Linked DNA regions of Homo sapiens: regions 1 and 2 are each linked to region 3. The links are contacts of gene promoters, found by promoter capture Hi-C in blood cells and fetal thymus (Javierre and others, 2016). All regions are on one chromosome and are shown on one strand. The core of a region is centred on a gene start or on the middle of the fragment in contact, and the rest is flanking DNA. Distances in the headings are between cores, read along the strand shown.

Evidence for each region. The method cuts DNA at HindIII sites, captures the fragments that hold promoters and counts their contacts. A CHiCAGO score of 5 or more calls a contact.
Region 1: a fragment that was not itself captured here is called in contact with the fragment with the promoter of IFFO2 in region 3 in 2 of 17 cell types (activated CD4 T cells and endothelial precursors); the score reaches 5.7 in activated CD4 T cells.
Region 2: a fragment that was not itself captured here is called in contact with the fragment with the promoter of IFFO2 in region 3 in 5 of 17 cell types (endothelial precursors, non-activated CD4 T cells, naive CD4 T cells and 2 more); the score reaches 8.3 in endothelial precursors.

The regions. Positions count from the first base shown.
Region 1 is chr1:19,115,172-19,119,877 of GRCh38, reverse strand. It overlaps UBR4 (ubiquitin protein ligase E3 component n-recognin 4), which reads left to right. Exons shown (of 106, transcript NM_020765.3): 70 at 177-321; 71 at 921-1,006; 72 at 1,968-2,055; 73 at 2,464-2,657; 74 at 4,241-4,480. Among named protein-coding and RNA genes, the nearest start is that of UBR4, 93 kb to the left of the region's middle. RefSeq lists an enhancer at 1-322. The HindIII fragment of the contact is 3,131 bases long and covers 1-3,075 here.
Region 2 is chr1:19,097,471-19,102,040 of GRCh38, reverse strand. It overlaps UBR4 (ubiquitin protein ligase E3 component n-recognin 4), which reads left to right. Exons shown (of 106, transcript NM_020765.3): 88 at 400-521; 89 at 1,468-1,665; 90 at 2,364-2,444. Among named protein-coding and RNA genes, the nearest start is that of UBR4, 110 kb to the left of the region's middle. The HindIII fragment of the contact is 866 bases long and covers 2,662-3,527 here.
Region 3 is chr1:18,955,281-18,959,525 of GRCh38, reverse strand. It overlaps IFFO2 (intermediate filament family orphan 2), which reads left to right and starts at 2,850. Exons shown (of 9, transcript NM_001136265.2): 1 at 2,850-3,858. The coding sequence starts at 3,194. RefSeq lists silencers at 2,668-2,837, 3,408-3,667, 3,908-4,097. The HindIII fragment of the contact is 3,069 bases long and covers 1,485-4,245 here.

The DNA of each region.
Region 1 (4,706 bases), core at 261-2,760, 160 kb before region 3:
TAGAGGCAGCAAATGACTATGCTGCATCTGGTAGGATTGATTGTCAAAAGTGAAACAAAACCGTTCAAACTTAACCCATAATTGTGGGGAAATTGAGGTACCAGAGCCTCAATGATAAACACAGGTGCCTCAGGGTTTTCTGCTGCTTGGTAACATGAGCTGTCATATATCCACAGAAATTCCAGCAAATCTCAACAGGAGCTCCTGCTAGATCTGATGTGGTCCATCTGGCCAGAACTCCCAGCCTATGGTCGTAAGGCTGCCCAGTTTGTGGACCTACTAGGATATTTCTCCCTGAAAACTCCACAAACAGAGAAGAAGGTAACAGTTGCTTTATGGTCAGAGGGGCCAACTTGCCATATTTAACCTTTTTTCTCTTGAGTTAAGAATATTATGAACAACCCAGATATAGGGAGTCCATATAGGAAACCTCTTTTAAATATATCTAGTTTTGCATTTCTTGGTAAGCACTCGTAATATGTCTGTGATGTAGACAGTATACACTAACAAATCTAACTTAACATAGGACGTAGGTCAAGGTCAGGTGGGGAAAGAAGATAGAACTCATTACAGTTCCTTGGAAAAGCAAGTGCTCCTTGTTTTGCTAGTAGCCCTGATTATACATACCAGAAAATGTTTCTGCAATTAGCTAACCATTTTATGGCTTCTCCATAAAAATAAAAATGATCTTCCTCCATCAGGTCAGAAAAGGGTACTACCTATCACTAAAGCTCATGGAAACTTCTAAAGGAGATAGAATCCATTTAAATGATTGAAATTAGGCCCAGCTTTGTATGATTCTGACTGAGAAGTCTGGTAGGTCTAGGGCAGTATTCAGCTAGAATGCAGAAGACAAAAGTCTTTTCCAATAAGACTTCACCTTGGGCTTTAAGTTGTTTCTTTACTGAATTCTGTTTCAGTTGAAGGAGTATTCACAGAAGGCTGTGGAGATTCTGCGGACTCAAAACCATATTCTTACCAACCACCCCAACTCGAACATTTATAAGTGAGCTTTGTTTTGCTTTCTACCTGTGGGAAGCTCAGTCAGCATTCTGAGGAGTTATTTGCATGGTGATAGGCTCTTACATAGGAATTGACAAGCGCCTGAGAGAAGAGCGAATCTGCCTAGTTGAGATTCCAATCCCCTCCATGTAGGCCAGGGTCTTGCAAATAGAAGGTACTCAAAATGTCATTGCTGAGTTCAGGGTTTGGTGAGTAGTAATGTAGAAAGGTCTGTATAGCCTGGGCAACATAGTGAGACTTCATCTCTTAAAAAAAAATTTAAAAAAGTTAGCCAGGCGTGGTGGCGTGTACCTGTGGTCCCAGCTGCTGGGGAGGCTGAGGCAGGAGGATGGCTTGGGGCCAGAAGTTCGAGGGTGCAATGAACTGTGATCCACGCCACTGCACTCCAGCCTGGGTGACAGAGTGAGACCCTGTCTCAAAAAAAAAAAAAAAAAAAGGTCTTTAGTTTCAAGGGTTTAAGTTAAATAAGGTGAAACAAATTTAAAGAAAATGTCTTCCTTTTTTTAAAAAAACTTCTAAAAGAGGATATTGGTTAAATTGACAGTTTATTATTTCTCTGGTTTAGTAGTGACTGTTCTTTAAAAAAAATTTAAAAAAACTTTATTGAGATAATTTATGTATTAACCTATTTTAAATGTACAGTTCAATGATTTTTAGTAAATTTAATTGTGACTCTTGAGTCAAATTTTACTACTTTTTAGAATTCCTCTGAAGGATAGATCAAAGATTAGGAAACATCTAAGGTCAGTTAGTTGAAATTTCTTTCCTGTGGCTTCGTAACCCTATTGGGATTTCTCCTGTGTCCTTGAGTTCTCACTAGGGTGGGGCTCACTTTGGGCTCACTTTGGCTCACATTGAGCCATGGCTTTGTCATGATTTTTTTGTGAAACTCAGTGCTTCCTAAGATGAAAATGTGTTCATGCTAAGACTGGTTTCTTCCTTAGCACTTTGTCTGGCTTAGTGGAGTTTGATGGCTATTACCTGGAGAGCGATCCCTGCCTGGTGTGTAATAACCCGGAAGTACCGTTCTGTGTAAGTAACATCTGTACATGGACAGTCCTGAGGCCAATAGGTCCAGTGGGATTCTTGTTTCCAGAGATGGATCATTATCACATAGATGTTCCTCTCCTAATGGTTGGTCACCGATAGTAGGAATTTTTATCTGCCACATTTATTACCTTAAATAGAAACTTGGCTGGGTGCAGTGGCTCAAGCCTATAATCCCAGTACTTTGGGAGGCTAAGATGGGAGGATCCCCTGAGCCCAGGGGTTTTAGACCAGCCTGGGCAAGATGGTGAGACCCCATCTCTACAAAATATTTTTTAAAAAATTAAATAGAAACTTCATCTTGTGGATGAAGAGTGGGTTACACTGATGAATTTTTAAAAAGGCAGTACGAGTCTTGAACTAATACCATGTTTTGTGAACTCTTGTATTTAGTATATCAAGCTGTCTTCCATTAAAGTGGACACGCGGTACACCACCACCCAGCAGGTTGTGAAGCTCATTGGCAGTCACACCATCAGCAAAGTGACAGTGAAAATCGGGGATCTGAAACGGACCAAGATGGTGCGGACCATCAACCTGTATTATAACAACCGAACCGTGCAGGCCATCGTGGAGTTGAAAAACAAGTACGGGCTTTTTAGGCCTCGGGAGGGGCAGCAGGTTGTAAGGCTGAAGCTCAGTTGCTGCCTTCGGTTCCTGGAATGGAGTAAGGCAGCACATCCCTAGAGGCCTAATACATCCTCTTGGCCCCTCCATTCATGACCAAAGGACAAAAGTGAAACAACAGTTCTAAGCATGTTGACAAAGATTATTTCTAAATTAGCCCAGTGGAGCCATAGGGGTCTGTGGAAGTTCCTCAACAGCCTGCCTAGGGAGGGGAAGCTGAGTGAGGGGACCTCCAGGCTTCTCATGCCCATTTTAACTATTCTTACACAAAGGTCTAGACTTAGATAAAACCTTCTGTATTGGGAAGTAATTGTCATTTCTTGGATTAAGACAGCTATGCTCTTGCTCACAGGGCAGAAAGTTATTTCTCAAGAAGCTTCTTTAGTACACACACTCTTCGATTTCCACATGGTGCCTTTTCTCTGTATCTGCTGATACTGGATCTTCCTAGCCCATGTATCCCAGTGACTGAACCAGGGCATGTCATATTTAGGCCAAGAGAGGCACTCACATGGGTTATAGTGTTGACTTTCACAGAGACAGATCGCCTTTTTTTGAACTCTCAGGCATTGCTACTGAAGGGAGAACACAGGTTGACACTACTTGAATAGTAAGACTTACAGAGCTGTTCTGCACACAGGATGGAAGTATTGCTGTTATTCCAAGAGGCAGAATAAGGCTCATGTACCACAGCAACACGTGGCCATGAAGGCTGCCTAGGGAGGTTTTCTCTTCTTGCCTTGAAAAGCCTAGTTTAACCTTGGTGACCTGAAAGTAGATGCTGCACATTAGGGTGGCCCATTCCCCTCCAGAGGAGGTGGGTTTGATTTTTCATTGTGTGGAGTCAGCAGAGCTACTGGTAGACTATTTGGGTTCAGATCCCAGCTCTGCTACATAGCTCTGTGACCTTAGAGAAGCTGCTTAACCTCAGTTTCTGTAACTATAAAATGGAGGTAGGACCCCACTTCCAGGGTTTAAGGATTAAATGAGTTAGTATGTGTCAGGTGCTGAGAACAGAGCCTAGTACATAGTAAGTACTCAGTAAATATTAGCTCTCATTGTGTTATATAATCACCCCAAAATTATTACATACCTTCCTCTTTATGACTTGACTTAGCACTTGGTTCAGACCCTGATTTTCTTCCTCTGCCTCTCTAAAATAGCCTGGGTTTATCTTTCCAAGGTTGCTGTCAGGATGGGAACTTGGCATGCATCATCATTGCACCTCTTACAGGCTTCAGTGTGGCATGCTTTTGGAGTCATGGTTTCCCTTGTTATATACTTCTGTTGTTTTCCTGGAATTTCAAAAGGTATCATGTATAACAGCTTAAAGCACTTGTATGTTCTTTCCTTTTTTTATAGAGAAAAGGTAGTAGAAAACTTTTTTAAAACTGGCTTCCTATTATATGCCAGATTTCTTTTCCTTAGAGTAACCACTTAATTGCCTTAGAAAAATACATGGGACAGTCTTCCTCTTTGTCTCATCAGACTGTTATCACTGAGGGTTAGATGAGAAAATCTCAAGGCTGTCTGTCTTTCCTAGGCCAGCTCGCTGGCACAAAGCCAAGAAGGTTCAGCTGACCCCTGGACAGACAGAGGTGAAGATTGACCTGCCGTTGCCCATTGTGGCCTCCAATCTGATGATTGAGTTTGCAGACTTCTATGAAAACTACCAGGCCTCCACAGAGACCCTGCAGTGCCCTCGCTGTAGTGCCTCGGTCCCTGCCAACCCAGGAGTCTGTGGCAACTGTGGAGAGAATGTGTACCAGTGTCACAAATGCAGGTAAGTCATTGGTCATCCCCTAGGCCAGGGCTGTGCACATTCCTTGTTATTTTTCTGTAGTAGTGTCAGTGTGAGCAATTACAGTGTCTGATTCCCTCAGAACATTTAGAGAATTATGGGTTTGTAGAGTGGGTTCAAGGGTAGAAAGGGAGGAGGAAGAAGAGAGAGTGAGTGAGTGTGTGTGTGTGTGTGTGTGTGCATGTGCACACGAGTGTGTCTGTCCTGT
Region 2 (4,570 bases), core at 1,845-4,344, 140 kb before region 3:
GAAGCTAAAAACTAACTGTAACTTCCTTTTGATTTGACTGGAACACAGGATTATTTGACATTTTCTGAGTGCCTGTTTTGGGCAAGGAGATGCTAGTTAAATAAGGCACAGTCCCTCTCCTTGAGGAGGTTATATCCTGAGAGAGAGCAAGACATGTACACAGCCAACCATGATGAAGTGTGTGGACTTGGGTGTTATGGGTTTCAAACTGAATGTGGTCTGAGGATAAAATCAATCAGCATCAAATTTCCAATTTGAACTATTGATATTGCCATGTAGGGCATTTAAAGACTTACCAGGCAGAAATAATTTGTCAGTGATGGTACTTCAGTTAGAATTCTCATTTCACCTTCCATGGGAGAGGCTCTTTCCTAACTTGGCCGCTTTGATTTCTGGCAGGTACAGAATCAGAAACCAAGGCCTTCATGGCTGTGTGCATTGAGACAGCCAAGCGCTACAATCTGGATGACTACCGGACCCCGGTGTTCATCTTCGAGAGGCTCTGCAGCATCATTTATCCTGTAAGCAGTGCGGTGCTTCCCATGGCTCTCGAGTGTCAGCACAGCCCACTTTGCCATGAAGCCTCTTGGTGATTCATTAAAGTTATGGGGAATTGTACCAGCTGTGGGCCACTTAGTCATTAGTGAAAGAAGATCCACCGCCATAAAAGTGAAGCAACCTCATAATTTTCCTCTTGCTAACGATGGGACATTTAATGACCTTCCTTGGTCTTATTTCCTAGATTCAAGTAAAGAATCATGTTTTTTTAAAAACTAGGTCTAACCTCCATTACCAAAATCCCATTGCATATCAATCCAACATACTGTGGAAGAAGCGGTATTGAGCTTGAATATAAAGATATTTTTACTCTCTTCCTTCTTTAGCTGCCCTGTATTTTGTGCACACATGCAGCGTGTGTTTTTTTCCCTAGCCTGAACTGTGTAGAAGCACAGTATCATCCAGAGAACCCTTCCTGCTATTGAGGAAAGATGAACACTAGTATCATGAGCTAGCAATGAGAGCTCATTGGGGGTGTGTACCTGAGTGTCATGTCCCATAGAGAAGCCCTTTTCTTGACTTCAGGGTCATCAGTGACAAAGTCCTCTGGCCCCAAATTGGTTAGCATCACATGAGACCAGCAGGAGGAGGAAGGAAAGTCCCTCCTCGCACCCCTTCCCCGATTTTTTAATATATCTCTCATATGTCACTCCTTGTCTGCTTGTTTTGTTAGGCTTTATCTCCTAATCCACCCTGGGGTTTCAGGGTAGATGCTTGATATTTTAGTCTACTTGAGTTTGTTTAGATTTTTGGAAGTACCTCTGAGTTTCCTGTCCTTTGTATCTTTAAATGTTTGGGGGGCTTGCTGAGTTTGGTGTGTTTTCCTCGAGTGTCCATGGAACAAGGTAGCATGGTATAAATCTCCACCTCTGCCATCCCTTCTGATGCACCCTTCTGTCTGTCCTCCAGGAGGAGAATGAAGTCACTGAGTTCTTTGTGACCCTGGAGAAGGATCCCCAACAAGAAGACTTCTTACAGGGCAGGATGCCTGGGAACCCGTATAGCAGCAATGAGCCAGGCATCGGGCCGCTGATGAGGGATATAAAGAACAAGATTTGCCAGGACTGTGACTTAGTGGCCCTCCTGGAAGATGACAGTGGCATGGAGGTAATGACCATAGGACAGTGCTGCCCACGTTTACGATTAGGGGCTTCCTCCTAGGCTAACCAAATCCAGGTGCTTCTTCCTAGTAGCTGATTAACTTGGGGCAGGTGGCCTTCAGTTTCTCCACTCTGTAAGTTGGGGTTAATGATTCCCACCTTTCTACCTCACCTAGTGCTAAGGTTAATAACCTGTAAAGGGCTCTGCCCAGTGCCTGGCAGGAAGTAAGCATATTGTTAATGGCTGTTGGTTGTAGTGGTGGTGGGTATTTATTATCGTTATTGCCTCTGGCAGAGACTTCTCGGTGAGTCTGAGTTACCTGAGCCCCCTAAATATTGGCGTTTTACCCCCTGTGCAGGTTTATGTCCCCGTGTCAGTTACTTTCTGGCAGACCGTTGAGGGTCTGACATTTTTACATAGTGAAAAGCCTTTTCTGGTGCTGAGCCTGCAGGAGAAGGTCCCCGGTGGGTGTGTCTAAGCTGGAGCCTGTGTGTGGGTTAGGGACGTTAGCAGCCCCTGAAATTGTGCACAAAATTCTGTGTGTTTTTCATACGTGCGGATTTTTTAAGAGTGGGAGAGTTGATAGGTCCATGACATATAAAAATTGTGAATTATCAACCATTGCCGTAAGGTGCCCTTTGCTCTTGGATTTTACTTGTCTTACAATTATTTGGAACAACAGCTTCACCTGCTTTTCTGTTCAGCTTCTAGTGAACAATAAAATCATTAGTTTGGACCTTCCTGTGGCTGAAGTTTACAAGAAAGTCTGGTGTACCACGAATGAGGTATGTGCCTGCTTTCTCGTTTGGAGGTGTGGTTTCACTTTTCTGACTTATGCAGACTTGTACCAGCAGGAGCCATTGTTCATCATCACTTACCTGGCTTGTAGCAGCTCTCTAAGGCTTTACTGTCCCTGTTTGGGGTTGTGTGGAGAAAACCAATCTTGTTTTCCTTTGGAGGCATCTGACTAATGGAGGGACATTTAATGACCTTCATGAAGCTTCAGGAAAGCAAAAGCATTTTGCTGGGCTGTGCAAGTTGTCAAACCCCAAGAACTGAAAGCCAGGGGGTGTCGAAGGAGGCTCTGTGCTGGGAATGCTTGCTGTCTTGTTCCCTTCAGTATGGACACCTCTCAGCTGAGATTAGTTCTCAGCTTTTATGGGCCTGCTCGCTTAGTAGAACATTTTTCCAGTAGCTGTGTCAAGGAGCATCATTTCTGTTTTACTAGTTGGGGAATGGAGGCTCAAACAGGCAGTTATTCTTGAGGAGGGGAAAAGGGAAATGAAGGAAGTCCAGCGCTCTGGGCCTTTTGGCCACCACGAGTGATGCTGTTTGTCCACTTATGGAAGTATTAGATGGTCCCCTTCACCTTTCCCTCCTTTCTTACTCTCTGTTCCTTCCATTCCTCTCTTCCTGTTTCTTTTTCTTCCCCTCCATTTCTCTCTCCCCCTGCCATTTCTTCCCTTCTCTTGTTTCTATTGGGAGGAGAGGTCTTTAGCACATGAATCAGATAAGTAACTTAATTACAGCAAACTAGTGTAGCAGGGATGCACAGCAAACTTTTCTAGACTTGGTCCCAAATACTTCTGTAGAGTTTGAGAAACTAAATTGGCAGTATACTATTTGTAGATTTTGATCTTCAATTTGTTACATATTTCCGCCTCTCTCCTTTCTTTTCTCCCACTGGGCTGGGAATCCTGCTTACTGTTGACTGTTGGTCTACTGCCAGTGGGGTCGTTGTTGCACTGTTGGCTGAGGGACAGGCAGAGAACTGTCCCAGCCAGTACCTCTTGTTACAGACATTGTAGCATCAAAACAGAACAATACAGATTTAATCCCTGATGCATATAAAAAATTAAGACCAAGCTTCTGTGGGCACTCTGGTAAATGGTGGTAGTGAACCCACAGAATGCACCAGGGTATCTCCCTTGAATGGTGAAGCAAGATAGAAGTTGAGAATCATTTGCCCCTCACATTGATGTGCTTAATCCAGTTAGAAGGTTTTCTGGCAAAGTTCTGAGTTTGTGATAGCCTATGTTCTGGGACTTCAGCTTCCCTTCTCTACCTTGCCCTCCATTTCCCTGATAAGCAGCCTACCTCTGTAGCTACTGACTAGAACTAGAACCTGCTCTGTGTTCAGTGTCTGTGGTGGTTCTCTCTGAGGAATTCTCACTGGGCTTCTATAGCCGGAAACACTTCTGCAACTGGCCTTTCTGGCAGGTTGTCTTCCTCCAGGGTGTCCTGTCCTGAAGCTCAGCATAGACTTGGAGGCAGGCTGCTTGAATTAGCGTGCTACCAAATCCCCCACTGGATTTCATCAGTGGTTACTTTGAGCTCCAATTTCTAGTCTGCAAAATGAGAATAATATTAATATATGTGCTCAGTGCCAGACATACAGGGAACTTTCCTTATTCTCCAATTTAGTGAAGTTGCTGTAATTTTGTCATTTATAAAAGACTTGATTCTTATCATTCTAGTCAGATTGTGGGTTTAGCTTAAAGAATTGTGGATGAACCCCCTCCTTGTATGGTTATATAAAGACGTCTGAATCTCTGTAGGTAAAGATTGATGTACTCTCTTTTCCTGTTTTGATTCCCGAGGCTTGAGTCAAAGCTCTTTGATTTAAATGGCCTTGTTTGTCCTGGGTAGTAGTCCCTATTGATTGGAGACAGTTTCTACTCCTGAGGAAGGTCCAGGCTTGGAATTAGACCTCCGCTTATAGCTTGGTAACCTTGAACAAGCTGTGTAACCTTATGTAAAAGGATCATAGAAAGTACTTAATTAGCATAGGACCTGGCACAGAGTAAAACATTCAATAAATATTTGTTAGATTATTACATAGTGTTCTAATGAAATTGAAGGAGATAGTGTCTTTAAAATGTTTCATACAATGTCTAGCTTCTAGTAGACA
Region 3 (4,245 bases), core at 1,601-4,100:
CAGCTACCACTTCCCTCAATTCCTTCAGATCTTCTGGGCTCTGCTTGGCCATCTCCTTTTCCCCCCTCTGCACCCACTCCCATGCCTCAGGATGGTCTTTTTTGGTTGTCTCCATCAGCTCCCCTGGAGCCCCTTTAGCTCCTTCCTCTGCATTTAATGCAGGATTTGTGCCGAAGCAGGTGCTCCACAAGTCATCACGGAAAGTCTGAATATCTCCAGGGCCCAGGGCAGGGCTGCCCCCACCCTCAAGGAGGGCTGCACACCCCAATTCCAGGGCAACTTTGTTGGAAGGACAGATCCTTCCTGGAAGAGGTTGCAGGGAGCCACTCCCCAGGTGTGACTTCTTAACCCTTTCTCTTCCATGGGACCACTCAGGCATTGGGTGGAGCCTGTGGACCCCTTCTGAGAATAATTTTTTTAAAAAGGCATTAGGATTACTATGAAAAGTCATTTTACTAAAAATAGATATCAAACTATTAACAATTTCTCATATAGTAACATACGTTCTCTTTTACTAATACATTAAATAAGATTTAGTGGTCGGTCTAATATGACTTTAATTTCACAGTTCTCGTAGCTTAGATGATATCTTGAGATGTTTACAATAACTGTAGTGTGTTACATAAATACCTGTGATTTCTACTAGTGACAAAATCACAGGGACATCTACTTGCTGCCTACATTCATAATCAAAGGATATGTTAAAAACCATTGGCTGGGCACGGTGGCTTACGTCTGTAATCCCAGAACTTCGGGAGGTCAAGGTGGGCGGATCACCTGAGGTTGGGGGTTCAAGACCAGCCTGACCAACATAGAGAAACCCCCATCTCTACTAAGAATACAAAAAAATTAGCCGGGTGTGGTGGCGCATGCCTGTAATCCCAGCTACTTGGGAGGCTGAGGCAGGATAATCTCTTGAACCCCGGAGGTGGAGGTTGTGATGAGCCAAGATCGCACCATTGCACTCTAGCCTGGGCAACAAGAGTGAAACTCTGTTTCAAACAAACAAATAAACAAACAGACAACAAAGCCTTTAGAGATTAGTGAGGCTAAAGGTATAACTTTTGTCCACCCCTGTGTCATGGACCCCCCAGAATTCTATCCTCAGTCCTCTTGGGGGTCCATGAACCTCTGCTTCAAGGCAAAGGGGTTTTGATTCCTTAGGTTAGATAAACAAGAACATCATCAAGAGACGAGAGAACGAAGAGTAAAGGGCAGTGTCCAGACTGGGTTGGGTTAAGCAGAGAAAGGTTTCTAGATGAGTGAGTTTCAGAGCTGGGTGTTTAAGGTGAGTCCGTGTTGGCAGGAAGCAAGGAACTGTGGTTGAGGGAAGGAACTATGGGGAAGGTTTGCTTTTGTGGCTAAATCAAAAACACAGCAGACTAACATCACAGCCACATCACTCCAGGGCAAGCCCGTGTCTCCTTTGTCACCAAGAACACCAAGGCATTGTCCATGTAAGACAGTGTGCCTGTCCTCAAGCTTACATACAAAGAGACAAAACAAACACAAAAGTTAATAACAAGACAAAAATTAAACTGCTAGTAAAAAATGCAGTCGGAAGTATCTGAAACATGCCACATATCTGGTTAAGTGCATACAATGCAAGCCACAGGCGTTCAAAGGTGGGGGTTCAAGGTGGGGGTCACCTCCCCTCTGAGGTTTGCGGTGAGGACCAAATGCGGAAATGGACACGAGGCCCGAGGCCAGCATTGTGGAAGGCCGGTTAGAGCATGCACTTTGGACCATTGTGGCTACTTAACGTCTCAGTGACCTTCTCTGTAAAATGGGGATAATAAATAAGTATGGCGCCTGACATATACTAATGTTTGCAACACGGTTCAGGAGACACCAGAGACTGGAGAACTTGGCCTTTAACGTGGTAGGTGTGAAAACATTTGAATGAATGAATGAATGAATGAATGGGTCCTCGGGTTGCCTCGGTCTGCCCCAGGCGGCCCGCTAAGCCCCATGTCTGTGAAATGAATCCCCAGCTCTCGGGGTCAGCTTCATCTCAGCGTGTGGGTGTGGGTGGTGGGGAGGTGCTGAGCAGCTCAGCAGAGGCGAGGCCCAGGCCGAGTTTGTGGGTGTCATCCCGGGAGGGTCTTGCTCGGCCTCCCCAACCCCCATGCTGCTCGGCTCCTCAGTGGGCGGGGGAACCAGCGGGCTTAGCTGTGCCCGGGCCGATCTCGAGAGGACAAGGCCCGCAGCTAGCATTCGAGGAGCCCACCCCCGGGTCCGCAGCGTGGGGCACGGGCGCCCTCTTATCCCCGAAAGGTCGATCTGGGCCTCCCCAGGCTAGAGTGGGGGTGGGGTGCCGATGCACCTTCGGATACTGTGGTCCCCCAGCCCTTCCAGCCGCGGTCGCGCACATCCGAAGGAATTTGGGGCCAGGGGCATTGCGGGCAGAGAGGACAGAGAAACGGAGCCCTCTCGGCAGGCGACGTGGGAGAGGAGCGCCCTAAAAAGTGGAAAGCGAGCGTTGCCGAGGCTGCTGGCCCCTTTAAGAGGCCCGGCTGGCTCTGCGGCGGTTCCAGCTAACCCGGTCCCTGGTGCAGCTCTGCGGTCCGGGTCCCCCAGCAGAGAATCGGCACCCGGCGGGGAGGCAGGACCAGACGCAGGAGAGGGCGTGGCCCCGCCGGGGAGCTGGGCGGAGTCTATGCTGCGGAGAAAGCGGGAGAACCCGGAGGTGGGCGGAGCCGAGGGTCTGTGGGTGGGGCCCGGCGCTGCGGGCCTCGTGGGGCGGAGCCTCGGGCTCGGGGAACGCCGCAGAGGGAGGAGGGGTGGGCGGGGCCGCGGCGGGGGCGGGGCCAGTGTCTGCAGTGGGCGGGGCCCGCCGCAGAAGGGGCAGTGCCGGCCGAGAGTCCTCTGCGTGCGGCTGCCGCGGCCCCTCCACAGCGTCTCTGACAGCCCGGGCGGTGAGACCCGCGACCCTTCTGGCCCCGCGCAGATACCGCGGCCTCCACCGCGTCCCGAGGAGCGGCCGAGTGCCCTCTCTCGCCTCGGCGCCCGCATCCGGGGCCATCCGTCCTGCCGTCTCTGCGGAGGCCGCATCTGGCGCGCATCTGGAACCGCCCGGCCGGCCGCGCTGGAGCCCGCGCCCACCCTGGCCCGGCCGCGCCGGGAGCCCTGCCCGGAGCTGGAGCCGCACCTGGAGCCGCGGGCCCGGGGCCCTGAGCCGCGCAGCCGGCGCATGGTGAACTCGCTGCTGTTCGGGGAGATGGCCTTGGCCTTCGGCTGCCCGCCGGGCGGCGGCGGCGGGGGCTGCCCTGGCGGGGGCGGCGGCGGCGGCGGGGCAGGGCCGGGTCCGTCGCCGGTGACGGCGGCGCTGCGGGACGACCTGGGCTCCAACATCCACCTCTTGAAGGGGCTCAACGTGCGCTTCCGCTGCTTCCTGGCTAAGGTGCACGAGCTGGAGCGGCGCAACCGGCTGCTGGAGAAGCAGCTGGAGCAGCAGCAGAGCGAGCGCGAGCGGCGGCTGCGCTACAAGACCTTCTCCCGCGAGCAGGCCGTGCAGACCGGGCCCGAGTTGCTGCGGCCCCCGGCGCCCGGCGGCGGGCACGGCCTCAGCAGTGGCGCGGCGGCCGGCGCCAACGCCAATGCCGTGGCCCTGGGCGGCCTGCCCCCCGGCGGCGGCTCGCACCCGCAGCACTACGGCCGCCTGCCCGGGACCATCTGGAGCTACACGCAGGTGCGGCGCACGGGCGGCGGCGGCGTGGAGACCGTGCAGGGCCCCGGCGTGTCGTGGGTGCACCCCGACGGCGTGGGCGTGCAGATCGACACCATCACGCCGGAGATCCGCGCGCTCTACAACGTGCTGGCCAAGGTGAAGCGCGAGCGCGACGAGTATAAGCGGAGGTGAGTGGCCGCCCCTCCCCCGCCGCCCTGGGACGGGGCGCCCAGGTCCAGGCTGCCGCGGAATGCGTATGCGGGACGGGGGCCGGGCGGGCAGCTGGTACTGGCAGGTGGGCTGGAAGCTGTGTTTGCAGAGCGTCTTACGTACGCCAGGAAGGCCCAGTTATCTAGATCCCAGGATGGGGGCGGGCGCTGGCTACCGTGGGGGCCACCTCGATGCTGTCACTGGTGAGGCACATTGTTTTCTAGGTGACATAATAACTGTCTGTGTTTTATGCGATCTCATTTAATTCTCAGCACAATACAGCGTATTGTGTAAGGCAGTCTTATCCTCATCTCGCAGATGAGGAAACCGAGGTGCAGAAATGCTAAGTGATTTGCCTAAGGTGG